Regions from separate parts of the Homo sapiens genome. Here regions 1 and 2 are each linked to region 3. The links are contacts of gene promoters, found by promoter capture Hi-C in blood cells and fetal thymus (Javierre and others, 2016). All regions are on one chromosome and are shown on one strand. The core of a region is centred on a gene start or on the middle of the fragment in contact, and the rest is flanking DNA. Distances in the headings are between cores, read along the strand shown.

Region 1 (3,531 bases), core at 8-2,507, 110 kb after region 3:
CCAGTGATCCCATTTTGGGGAGGAGGAGCTGCGGCTTAGTGCCTCCTGAACATCTATCCTGCAGAGCATTTTCCCAAGCCTCCATTTTCCTTCTTGGGGAAACTCCCCAGGTACGCGGGCTTCTGGAGGTGTGAATATGGGGATGACATGGGAAGCGAGCCGAGACAGCACCTTGCAAAGTCTGGCAGGGTGGCTGGCAGTGCGAGAGTGGGGAGGTGGTCCAGAGATCTTCCTGGACCCCAGGAAGAAGCAAGCCAGAGCCTTTTCTTTTTGTCTTGCCCATCTGGCAGAATCTCACCATAATCATTTAACAGATTATACTCAGGCACTGTGACAGGGAGATAGAAACATCCTTTCAGATAACACTGGAAATGTTTCGAGTTATGATTGAAGTAGAGAGACCCATTTATTTTGCTTAAGGTTCAGCAGAGCCTCCTGAATTTTCTTAAAGATGAGATCGTTTTGCTCTTTCCAGATCTATTGCAAGCTGTTATGCCTCTTAGCAGAGGCGGAGCACAATCAGGAAATGAGTGGCCGTTCTCTCCTTCGTATTTCCAGCAAGTTGCAGTTGTGGCTGAGCAAGTTCCTGTGCGACTGCATGAAAGTGATTTGTTGGGGGGCAGATGAACAGCATGGCCAGATGCCTTGGAGCCCAGCTCATCCAGGACTTTCATTTTCCCCTCTGAAGAACAGCCTGTGTTGTTCACATGAGAACCGACTGCACCTCCGAGAACATCATTTGTCCCGTTTTGTAGGGTAGATTTGCCCTTTATGAGGGTGGAGCCTGTACACAGGACCTGCGGCAGCGTTTGACGTTGGCCAGGGCTGGGAAGGCTTAACTGTTGGATGCTATCAGGGCTGCTTGTGAGTCAGAAAGCTTCATACCACCCATGAGGCTTGCTTAGTGCTGTCCTCGTTTCTGGAATGACACACAGTCACCTTATATAAACCACTCTACATGTTTATTACTTTCTATTGACATTTAAAAATGATGTTCTGATGTTTATCATCCAAAGTAGAAAACCATTCATCATCCAGACCTACTCTTTCTCCTTTAAGTTTTGCTGTTTTAATATTGCTCTTAAATGTTTAAGAGAGCTTACAGAAGAAACTGAAGACAAAGGCCTTGCTTATTAGGATCTTTGAGACCCTCTGGCACTGGCGAACACGAGTGAACCCTGTGTCACACTTGACCGTGTTATTCTCCAGCCCCTCCTGGGTTCCCTTTTGTTGTGAGTCAAGTAGACACCTCTGATCTGCTTCTGCCTCAGAGCATAGACTCAGCTGGCCTTCTTTTTTTTTTTTTTTTTTTTGAGACGGAGTCGCACTTTGTCTCCCAGGCTGGGGTGCCGTAGTGCGATCTTGGCTCACTGCAACCTCCGTCTCCTGGGTTCAAGCGATTCTCCTGCCTCAGCCTCCCAAGTAGCTAGGATTATAGGTGAGCGCCACCATGCCCATCAGCCGGCCGTCTGAGGCAGGCTCCAGAGCCCCTTGTTTTGCAGGTGCAGGATTCATCTGTATGCATCATGTGGCACATGTGATACCATGTGAGGTATCTGGTGTTACTAAGTCGTCACGTATTTCGATGAAGGTATCTTTGGGACCTTGGCAGCCTTTTAGGAAGCCAGGCAGCTTGCAAAAGCTTAGGAAGAATTTGGGGGGAGAGGAATGAATGTAGTATTTTTCTGTCTGTCAACACACACACATATATATATATATGTGCCAGATATGAGTGGGTGCTTTTGGTAACCTTATCTCTAAATCCTCACCAGCTCTTTGAACTAGAAACTATGAAGTGTCTTACACATGGGACAGCAGATTTGGAGAGGCAGTGTGCCTGGCCTGTGATAAACAGAAAGACTTCTGTGGCTTTACCCCCATCTGAGTTCCTGAAGGGGTGACAGACAGACTTGCCTTTAGCGGGCCTGGCTGCTTTATACTCCCCAGGCACGGCTGCTTTATACTCCCCAGGCACAGCTTGAGGTGATAAACAGCCCTGAGTCCATCTTTGTATAGTTAATCAGAAATGTTGGCCTGTTTCTTGAACCTGGGTCTGGATTTAGGAGATGGGCCCGACTCTTTACTCACTCCTTTACCCCATCTGAAATTCACTGAGTGCCCACAGTGTGCGAGTCACAGTGTTAAATGCCATATAGAGGACAAGTCTGCCCACTTTGAGACTGTTCTCCACAAAGCATGTCCTGCCTCTCCCTGGTCCGAAGCAGGCTGTCTCTCTTCTGGAACCCATATTATTTTAATTTGAATCTTTTTGCTTAAGCTCTGCACTTTTCTGCTTTGTCTTGGGGTCACACCCCTGTTAGGAGTTCTGGGGCAGAGTCTGTGTGCTTCATCGCTGCCTCTTGATGCCTGGCAGGGTCCACAGGCTCAGAAAAGATGGAACGAGTGACTGTGGAGAAGGGTAGAACATGGGCCTGCCCAGAGCGCGAAGGCAGATACAGAAGAGCTGCCCGTGAAGGATGCAGGTGTGTCCCGGGAAGCCTTCCATTGGTTCCTAAGAACTGCAGAGTTGTCCTGGGCTCCTAAAGGTCCCCAGAGGCCTGCTCCTTTTTGTCACTTTGTGAATGGCCTTCTCTGCACAAAGGACTTCAGTATTGATTCCCTAAGTTCATCCTTACAGGTCTGGAGAAGCTCTTTTTTGTTTCTCCCAATGACACAGCATCTTACAGCAGGGCTGGAGAGGCTGGGAGCTGGCAGCAGCCAGACCCTACTTCCATAGCTGTGCAGAGAGCAGCCCCTGGCACTGTGAAAAGAGTCTCTTAAAAATTTTTTTTCGTGTGGCTGGCAGCAAGATCAGACACCGTATACGTGAAGGTTCTTATTCACTGTCAATTCAGAAAAGCCTAGAATCGCAGAGTGCCAGCTCTGTGCGTCAGGAGCCTGTAAACAGCTCAGCTGTCCAAGAGCTCCCAGCACAGAGCTGTGCCCCAGTGAACTGGGGAGACTTTTTACGGAAAATTCCTTAGCATTCAATTGGAGAACAAACGTTTGCTGTTTTAAAGTATCTTCCTCAGTGTTTATTAAAGTAGAATTATATATTTTTTTCAGTTATTTAAAAAATTCTTCCTTGACATTGAATGAATGAATAAATGAATGGATGGTTTAAAAATTCATACAGTGGGAGGATGGGAAGGCCCCTTCATGTGCAGAAGAAAAGCCAGCCCCTTCGCTGGCCCACCCTTTCAGGGTCAGTTCAGACCCCCAGCATCCCAGCGGGGTTAGCACTCCTTCCTGGGTTGGACGGTGTCTTCCCCGGTTCTGACAGCGCTCCATGCCGGGCGTCCCTGCAGTCTTGGGGCTGTGGTGACTCAGAATTAAGCTGAGTGCTCTCACTCTCGTGTACCCTGCCTGGCTGGCCTGATGACTCAGCATGGAGCGCTGGCTCCCTGACCCAGAGCACACTTGAACTGAATGTTCCAGGTCTGAGCCTCAGCCGAGCGTGGCTGGGCGAAATGGAAGCCTTTCTCTCCTGCTGCCTCTCCTGCTGCATTTTACCCCGGGAGATGAAGGTTT
Region 2 (3,908 bases), core at 443-2,942, 81 kb before region 3:
CTTGCCTTAGCTGTTAGAATGAGCAGGGCTTACTCTGAGATGTTTGTTTTAAAAATAAAGGTAAAAATAAATTTTAAAAATAAATAAATAAATAGAATGAGCAGGGCTGGGACTCAGCCAACACCCTATTGATGATATATGACCTTAAACAGGCCACTCTGAGCCTCGGTGTCTTCATCTGTAAATGAGATCACACCTCAGTGATGTGGCTGCTGGAGGATTCAGTGGGAACTCATGGGCCACCCAGCACAGAGGCCTTGGCTTTGAGCAGGGGCCTGGCCTTGACCTCACACCCATTCACACCCAGCCCTGCCTGGAGCCACACTCCAGCCAGGCCTGGAGCCTGGGGAAGAATCTGCTTACTGGGGGACCCTGTGGAATTGGACAGAGAGAAAGAGGGGCCGGCTGGCAATGAGGGTGGGATGAGGAAGGGGCTCTCCCAGGATGGAAGAATGGGGGTACTCATGGCCGAGGATTTGCCGACCAGGCGGGTAGCCCTCAAGGGCAGAAGATGCAGGGGTGGGGCAGGAAATGCTCTGATCTCAGAACAGGGATGGGGAGGACCTCCCCGCAGGGCCCAGCTCTGTCTCTGGGGCTTTCACCACTCCAGAAACTCCACTGTCCGAGCCAGCCTCCAGGCAGACAGAAGCTGCCGTCTCTCCTGGGACAGGTAGGGTATCAGTGGGAGAAACTCCAGCCCCACAGCTCCGGCCCCCCTCACCATTTACACTGCCCTGCCCAGCAGCTTTGGCCCCTTCCCAGGCAGATGGGCTGGGCTGGGCAGGAGGAGTACCCACCTCTTACCTCCTCCACACCTTTCAGGCCTGTGCCCGTCCTGTCCACACCAGACAACCGTGGATTTGGTGAGGGGACCAAAAGAGCCTCCATCTAACTCATTTTCAGGAAAGGCTCAAAGCCAGCATCCCTGGGCCCCAGAGAGCTCCAGGCCACAACCCCTGTGGGAGGCAGTCCTTAAAGCTGTTAGGATCCACCTGCCATATCCAGAGACCGTGAAGAGGAGGGAGAGCTGGGGCCCTGGGAACAGACCCTTGAGCCACAGCATGGCAGGGCTCCTGGTACCACTTTGCCCAGCAGTTTGCCAAGCCAAACATTGCCCAGGCCTGGGCCAGTTGTCATGGGGCCTTGGCTTGGCTATCTTGGGGGAGAGAGCAGGAAAAGCCCATTCAGCAGGCCATGGGGTGAGATCTAGAGTTTGCACTCTAGGGGCATCAACTACTGGCAGGTAAACCACAAGGCGCAGAAGGCTTGGGTCAGCACCTCTCATGCTTCAGGAGTTCTGACTCATTTGGAATCTTGATAAACTAGAATCTGATTCAGTGGGTGTGGGGTAGGGCACAGCCCGTGCTTCTGAGTGCTCCTGGGCGAAGCCACTGGTCCTCAGACAACACTTTGAGCAGAGAGGCCTTAGAAAGCCCCAAACCTGGCTGGGCACCATTTCTCACACCTAATCCCAGCACTTTGGGAGACTTAGGTGGGTGGATCACCTGAGGTCAGGAGTTTGGGACAAGCCTGGCCAACATAGTGGAATCCCAACTCTACTAAAACTATAAAAATTAGCTGGGTGTGGTGACATGCACCTGTAATCCCAGCTACTTGGGAAGCTGAGGCAGGAGAATCCCTTGAACCCTGGAGGTGGAGATTGCAGTGAGCTGAGATTGTGCCACTGCATTCCAGCCTGGGTGACAGAGTGAGACTCTGTCCCAAAAAAAAAAAAAGAAAGAAAGAAAGCCCCAAACCGGAATGGCAGGCTGGGTCTATAGTCAAACCAGGTCCTGTATTCTATGGTACAGAAGTTTTATTAATACTCACCAACATTTGCCCTGCCCTTGAGGGGAACTGATACCAGTAGTTTTCAAAGTCTGACACCCTCACCACTACAGGCTGCAGCAGCAGCCCTGTGAACTTCTGAGAGATCCAGGTTCCTGCTCCCCGTGCCAAGCCTATTGAGTTAGGAGTCTGGGTGGGACCTATGAACAGGACCCCCAGGTGACTGGGGTGCACACTCCAGTTTGAGGCCCACTGGTTTACAAAGCGCTTTCATCTCATTGAGGACGCTTAGGGCAAAGCAGCCACTGATCTTCCTGCCGATGGCTTTTCAGAGTCACAGAGGGCTGAAGAGAGTGAGGCTCTTACCTGCAAATGGAAGCAGGTGGGTACAATTGGCTACCACTGTTCTTAAACAAAAGGAAAGAGGATACGACATAGAATCCTACTGTCATATTTTTAATGAAAAGATAAACCAAAAAAAGGAAAAAAGTTACCTACAGGGAGAGGGAAGCCACCAGGGGAGGAGAGTGAGAGACAGATATAAAAGCCAGTCTGCTCAGAAATGTGCCTTGTCTTGTAGATTTGACTTTGCAAGCACACGTCAAATAAAACACAAATCCAGACTCAGTGGGGAGAGAACTATTTGAAAGATTTTTGCAAGGGAGGAAAGGGGCTACTGCAACAGGGGCTGGGATGGAGAGCACTGCAAAACGCAGAAGGCTTGACCATGCCATCTGCAAGGGTCTTGAGGGTTAGGCGAAAAGATGATCTCTTTTGTAGAAAGAACAAGGCTAGAAAGAGCCAGGTGTGGAAAGTGGGATGAAAGGGTGATGTGATTAGATAAATAGATCAGAAAATGTCACCCTGAGGCAGCCTCTGCTCTGGAGGGGCTGCCTGCAGGCTCAGGCTGAGTTGGTCAAAGTTCAGAGTCCAGGAAGAAGGAGTGAAACTTACCCAAGTCTGGCTAGCAAGCATTTTGTTTCCATGGATCAGTGGGAACAGGCCGTTCAGCTAATCATTTATGAGGCAAAGAATGGGAATTTGGAGGGTCTGTGTCTGGCCTTTCATAGATAAATAAGGGGGACATCCCTCGGCCTTATGGAAGTCTGATGTGGTTGTCTGTGTCCCCACCCAAATCTCGAATTGTAATTCCCATAATTCCCACATGTTGTGGGAGGGACCCAGTGGGAGGTAATTGAATCATGGGGGCGGGTCTTCCCCATGCTGTTCTAGTGATAGTGAATAAGTCTCATGAGATCTGTTGGTTTTATAAAGGGGAGTTCTGCTGCACACACTCTCTCTTGCCTGCCACCATGTAAGATGTGCCTTTGCTCCTCCTTGCCTTCCACCATGGTTGTGAGGCCTCCCCAGCTATGTGGAACTGTGAGTCTATTGAACCTCTTTCCTTTACAAATTACCCAGTCTCAGGTATGTCTTTATTAGCAATGTGAGAACAGACTAATACAAAGTCATATGGGGAAAGGTGGTTTTTTGCAGCATGTTGTTTTCCTGGAAAACAAAAATGTGAGGAGAATCTCTCGTTTTGGCTTTTTGTTGTTGTTTTGTTTTGTTTTATGAGACAGGGTCTTACTCTGTCACCCAGGCTGGAGTGCAGTGGTGCAATCATAGCTCACTGCAGCCTCTGACTCCTGGGCTCAAGCAATCTTTCCACTTCAGCCTCCAGAGTAGCTGGGATTACAGGTATGTGCAACCACACCCGGCTAACTTTTTTAAATTTTTTGCAGAACTGGGATCTCATTATGTTACCCAGCCTGGTCTTGAACTCCTGGCCTCCAGGGATCCTCCTGCCTCGGTCTCCCAAAGTGCTGAGATTACAGATTGAGCCACTGCACCTGGCAGGGGGAATTCCTTTAATCTTCACTGTTTTCCAGGAGCACCGGGCTCAAGTAAAATTCACTATTGTCATATGTAATATATGTTTTTGATAATTGTAAAACAAAACTAAAAATTTTTTATAGCAGCCCCTATAAACCAGAAGACAAATGGAAGAAACAAATCTGTTCATATGCAGGTGGTGGCATAATCACACAGAGACCATCCCCAAGTGACTTTAAGGCACAGAAATGTGACTGTAGGTTCCCAAAGAGGGGCATGCCCTA
Region 3 (3,920 bases), core at 1,269-3,768:
GTTTAGTGGCTGATCTTCCTTCCTTCCTTCCTTTTTTCTTCCTTCCTCCCTTCCTTCCTTCTTTCCTTTTCTTTGGATCTCACTCTGTCACCCAGGGTGAAGTGCAGTGGCACGATCTAAGCTCACTGTAGCCTCAACCTCCCAGGCTCAAGCCATCCTCTCACTTCAGCCGTCTAAGGAGCTGGGACTACAGGCACGCATCACCATGCCTGGCTAATTTTTTAATTTTTTTGTAGAGACGGGGTTTTGCCATGTTTCCCAGGCTTATCTGGAACTCCTGGGCTCAAGCAATCCTCCTGCCTCAGCCTCCCAAAGTGCTGGGATCACAGGTGTGAGCCACTGAGCCCGGCCTGAGACCGACCTTTCTGTCAGTGATGTAACCACATTTTATGAGGTTTAAAATTTGTTGCCCTGAAATAATTTGTTCCCTAAAACTGCCTTCAGCCTTTTTGGGGTGCAACCTGGCTACACGCAAAATCACCCCAAATCCATGTATCTCCCAGGATACAATGGTTCTATCTGTCAGTCTTCAACCCAAAAGCAATCTAAAGTAATAAGTAACGCGTACAGGGCTATTCATAGCAGCTCTATTTATAACAGGCAAAAGGGAGAAAAGCTACTAATTATTACACTTTTATTATGTGCCACACATTGTACTAGGGGCTTCATATGGTTTTGAGTATTTAATCCCATAACCCTATGAAACCCACTTTGCAGGTGGAGAAAGGTGCTGGAACATCAGCTCTCCTGAGTCAAAATGAAGCCTTCATTTTTAGCTTTGTTGATTTTCATGATGTAAATATCCCATCATAACTACTTTCAAGCTACCTATGGTTTACAACCAGTTTCCAAACTTTTTGAATATTTGGCAACTGGCTCTTGCAAGCCAGTTTGAGCCAGCTCCAGCACATCACTGAAACGGAGGCACAGAGAGATCAAGTAATTTGCCCAGTGTTGCTGAATGACAGAGTCAAGGTTAGAACCAAGAGTTTAATTCGAGTCCAGGCTCTGAGCAGCGCTCCACAGGCCTGTGCCAACCATAGAGACTGGTTAACATTAACACCCACAAGGGAATTCTTTGACTCACATGCAACACAAAAAGGTTTACATGACCACTAACGCTAACGGAGCACTTAGTACTTGCCGGGCAACAATGTAAGATCATTACAACAACCCTATGAAATCCTACATATTAAATACAATAATTTGCAAAACCTGATGGATGGAAGACAGGTTCCAATTAAGTACTTTAAAAGGCGAGTAGCTACTGTTATTCCCACTGTGCAGAACCTCATTCTGCAGAAAGGTCCCACGGCTGGTGAATATGGCGAAGGTGAGATTCGGATCCAGCCAGTCTGGTCCCAGTCTCTAAACCACAATGTCCCTCATAAAATACCAGGAGCAGAAAGGAAATGCACCAACGCGTTGGGACTCTGAGCGCCAAGCAGAAGTGAATCTTGGCGTGGGAAGCCCGGCAAAGCCCCCGAACTTCAGAGTCAGGGGAACCTGGGTTTGAAAGCCTCCCCATCACCTGCGGAGTGTGACTGGGGCAAGTTACCTAACAGCGCCTGGCTTCCGCTCCCTCCTCACTCACCGGGTTGTCCTAGGGGTGAAGGGAGAGTTCACCCAACGCGGTGGACAAAGCCCTTGGCGCACCCAAAGGCCTGCACAGGTCGTAGCTATTGTGATGAGCAAAAGGGTGGAAGGACCGGAATCAAGGGCACGGCTCCACCTTCACCGTGGGGTCTTTGGCCTATCAAGTTGCCCGAGATCGTGGCTCAGGCTGGCCCAAAGTGACGGCCAAGGCGAATCCTTCGTAACGTCAGAACTTCGCTGGCTCGGACCGCAGAAGTGCCCTTCTCCATCCTGGGGTTCCGCCACCCTCGCGATCCCACCTTTTGGCTCCTCGCGGCAGAAGCGAAGGCCCCCGACGCCCCAGGCCCAGGGGCCCAGTCGGATGCCCGGGTCCAGCCGTGCTCCCCCGGGCGCTCGGCATCCTTCCACCCACGCCCGCAGCGGAGGCGGAGAGCGTCACGGAGGGAGAAGCCCGCGCGCCGTTCCGCTTTCGGAATCTGGAGCCCCATGTCACCTCCAAAGTTTGGAGATTTGGGGCGCTCCTTTTTCTCCCAGACCATCACTAAAAAGAAAACTGCGGCTGTTCCTCTTTCAGCCAAACTTCCTCCCCGGGGCTCCCGGAGGAGCTCTGCGCTCCCGTCGCGGCTGGGACCGCGAAGGTGCGGTACCCAGCGGGGAGAGGTGGTGCGGTCGGCCGGGGCTCCAGTCTGGGAGGTACCACCGAGCCGCGCCCGAGCACAAGAGGGAGGGCAGGAGGCCGGGCGGGCGAAACGGCGCCCCGACCCCGAGCCCGCGGGCCCCCGAAGCCGCTTACCTGACGGCGGCCGCTTCCTGCTCAGCCGGCTCACGGCGCGGTTGAACATCGCCGCGGGCGCCCGAGGAGGAAGAAGGAGCAGCCCGGCGGCGCGGCGGCTGAGCCGGAGGAAGGCGAGGAGGAGGAGGAGGGCGAGGAGGAGGAGGAGGAGGGCAAGGAGGAGGAGCGGGCTCAGCACCGCCCCGGAGCTCTAGGTCCCCGCCCGCCGCCCTCCTCCTAGCCAGGCGCCGCGTGGCGCGCTCAGTGCGCCCTGCCCGCCCCCGCTGGTGAGGACTCGCGGTTCCGCTCCGGGGTGCCCGGGCGGGGCAGGGCAGGGCAGCCCCGGGTGACCCCCGATCGCCCAGAGTGTGCCCCGCGCCTGGGATAAGGTGCACTGGCCCAGAGGGAGCCCGCGCCGCCGGGAACTTAGTAGCCCCGCGGAGGCGGTTAGCGCGTCCCGGGGTCCCTGGCCCTCGCCTGAGATGCCGCCCCGGCCCGCCCCGCCCAGCTTCAAGCTCCCGGGCCCATCGCGGTCTCCCGCCTTCTCCCTGTAGCCCCGGAGAAACTGGCACGGCGCCGCGGGCGCACCGCGCTTCGGGGCTCTCAGCGAGCCTTCGCAGGTGGCGGGCGGGGTCCCCTCCCGGGTCACAGGCTGGGAAGCCTAGGCCTCGCGGTTCTGCAGAGTCCGGGCGCGGCCCAGCCTGTGGCCTTTGCCTCCTCGTCACCAGGATCCCCGCCTGCTGGGGCCTGGCTGCTCCTCGACTTCGTGGGCGCTGCGCCTTCCCGCCCCGCGAATGCGGGTGGGGCGTCCCCAGGGCCCGTGCGCTGAGCTAGCCGAGCCGCCGCGGGTGGGCGCCCTCTCCCCGGCCGTGCCGCGCGGGCGCCAGGACTCGGGGAGATCTGAGAGGATTCTGCAGGAACCCCCCGGTTCCTGCGCCGGGCGGTGCTCTGTCCCGCACACCGCGCTCTCGGGACACTTCTCTAACTTTGGGGACACGTGGGCACTGCCTCTGGCAGGGCCTTCAGGCTCCACGACCGGGACCACTCAAGCCCCCACGGCGTCACCTGCTGGGCGCTGCGCGCTCTACGGTCTCCTATTATTTCATTTCTTCTATGGAGCAGCCCCAGAGGGGATGTCATTAGCCCCCATTTTCTTGAACATTTGGTTTGCAAGAAATTGTCTTTCTGGCGAGTTTTATTTTTCTCCTTGTGTATCTGGCTTTGTCTCTAAATTGGTCTTTATTTTTAGCTGTACTAATTGCTATTTTTCCAAACCGTTCCCCAGTCGCCCTCCCCCCATCCCCCCGTCCTTTTGCAGTTTTTTTCACTACTTGGCACTTTCTTTTGTATCTTCTATTCTGAGCTTCCAGTTCTGCTCACTTTCCCTCTCCCTCTACCCACCCCACAGCCCCAGTTGCACCCCAAGTGTGGCCGGTGGTTGCTTGTTGTTTCCCTCCCCGCTATTCCCCCTCCAAAAGTCGTTTTCCTCCGAGCATTTCCAAGCACTCTCCCCCTTCTGCTGCCAAAAGAGGATTTCCAGGCTCCTGAAGCG

What was found. The method cuts DNA at HindIII sites, captures the fragments that hold promoters and counts their contacts. A CHiCAGO score of 5 or more calls a contact.
Region 1: a contact is called between a fragment that was not itself captured here and the fragment with the promoter of RGS10 in region 3, in 2 of 17 cell types (naive CD4 T cells and naive CD8 T cells). The highest score is 7.8, in naive CD4 T cells.
Region 2: a contact is called between a fragment that was not itself captured here and the fragment with the promoter of RGS10 in region 3, in 6 of 17 cell types (non-activated CD4 T cells, naive CD8 T cells, naive CD4 T cells and 3 more). The highest score is 10.7, in non-activated CD4 T cells.

What each region holds. Positions count from the first base shown.
Region 1 is chr10:119,655,086-119,658,616 of GRCh38, forward strand. All of the region lies in intron 1 of BAG3 (BAG cochaperone 3), which reads left to right. Among named protein-coding and RNA genes, the nearest start is that of BAG3, 5.5 kb to the left of the region's middle. The HindIII fragment of the contact is 765 bases long and covers 876-1,640 here.
Region 2 is chr10:119,460,284-119,464,191 of GRCh38, forward strand. No RefSeq gene overlaps it. Among named protein-coding and RNA genes, the nearest start is that of RGS10, 80 kb to the right of the region's middle. RefSeq lists an enhancer at 1,929-2,178. The HindIII fragment of the contact is 4,863 bases long and covers 1-3,908 here.
Region 3 is chr10:119,540,201-119,544,120 of GRCh38, forward strand. It overlaps RGS10 (regulator of G protein signaling 10), which reads right to left and starts at 2,519. Exons shown (of 5, transcript NM_001005339.2): 1 at 2,390-2,519. The coding sequence starts at 2,438. RefSeq lists silencers at 1,972-2,141, 2,192-2,931, 2,942-3,011, 3,062-3,221 and enhancers at 3,432-3,511, 3,774-3,920. The HindIII fragment of the contact is 10,649 bases long and covers 1-3,920 here.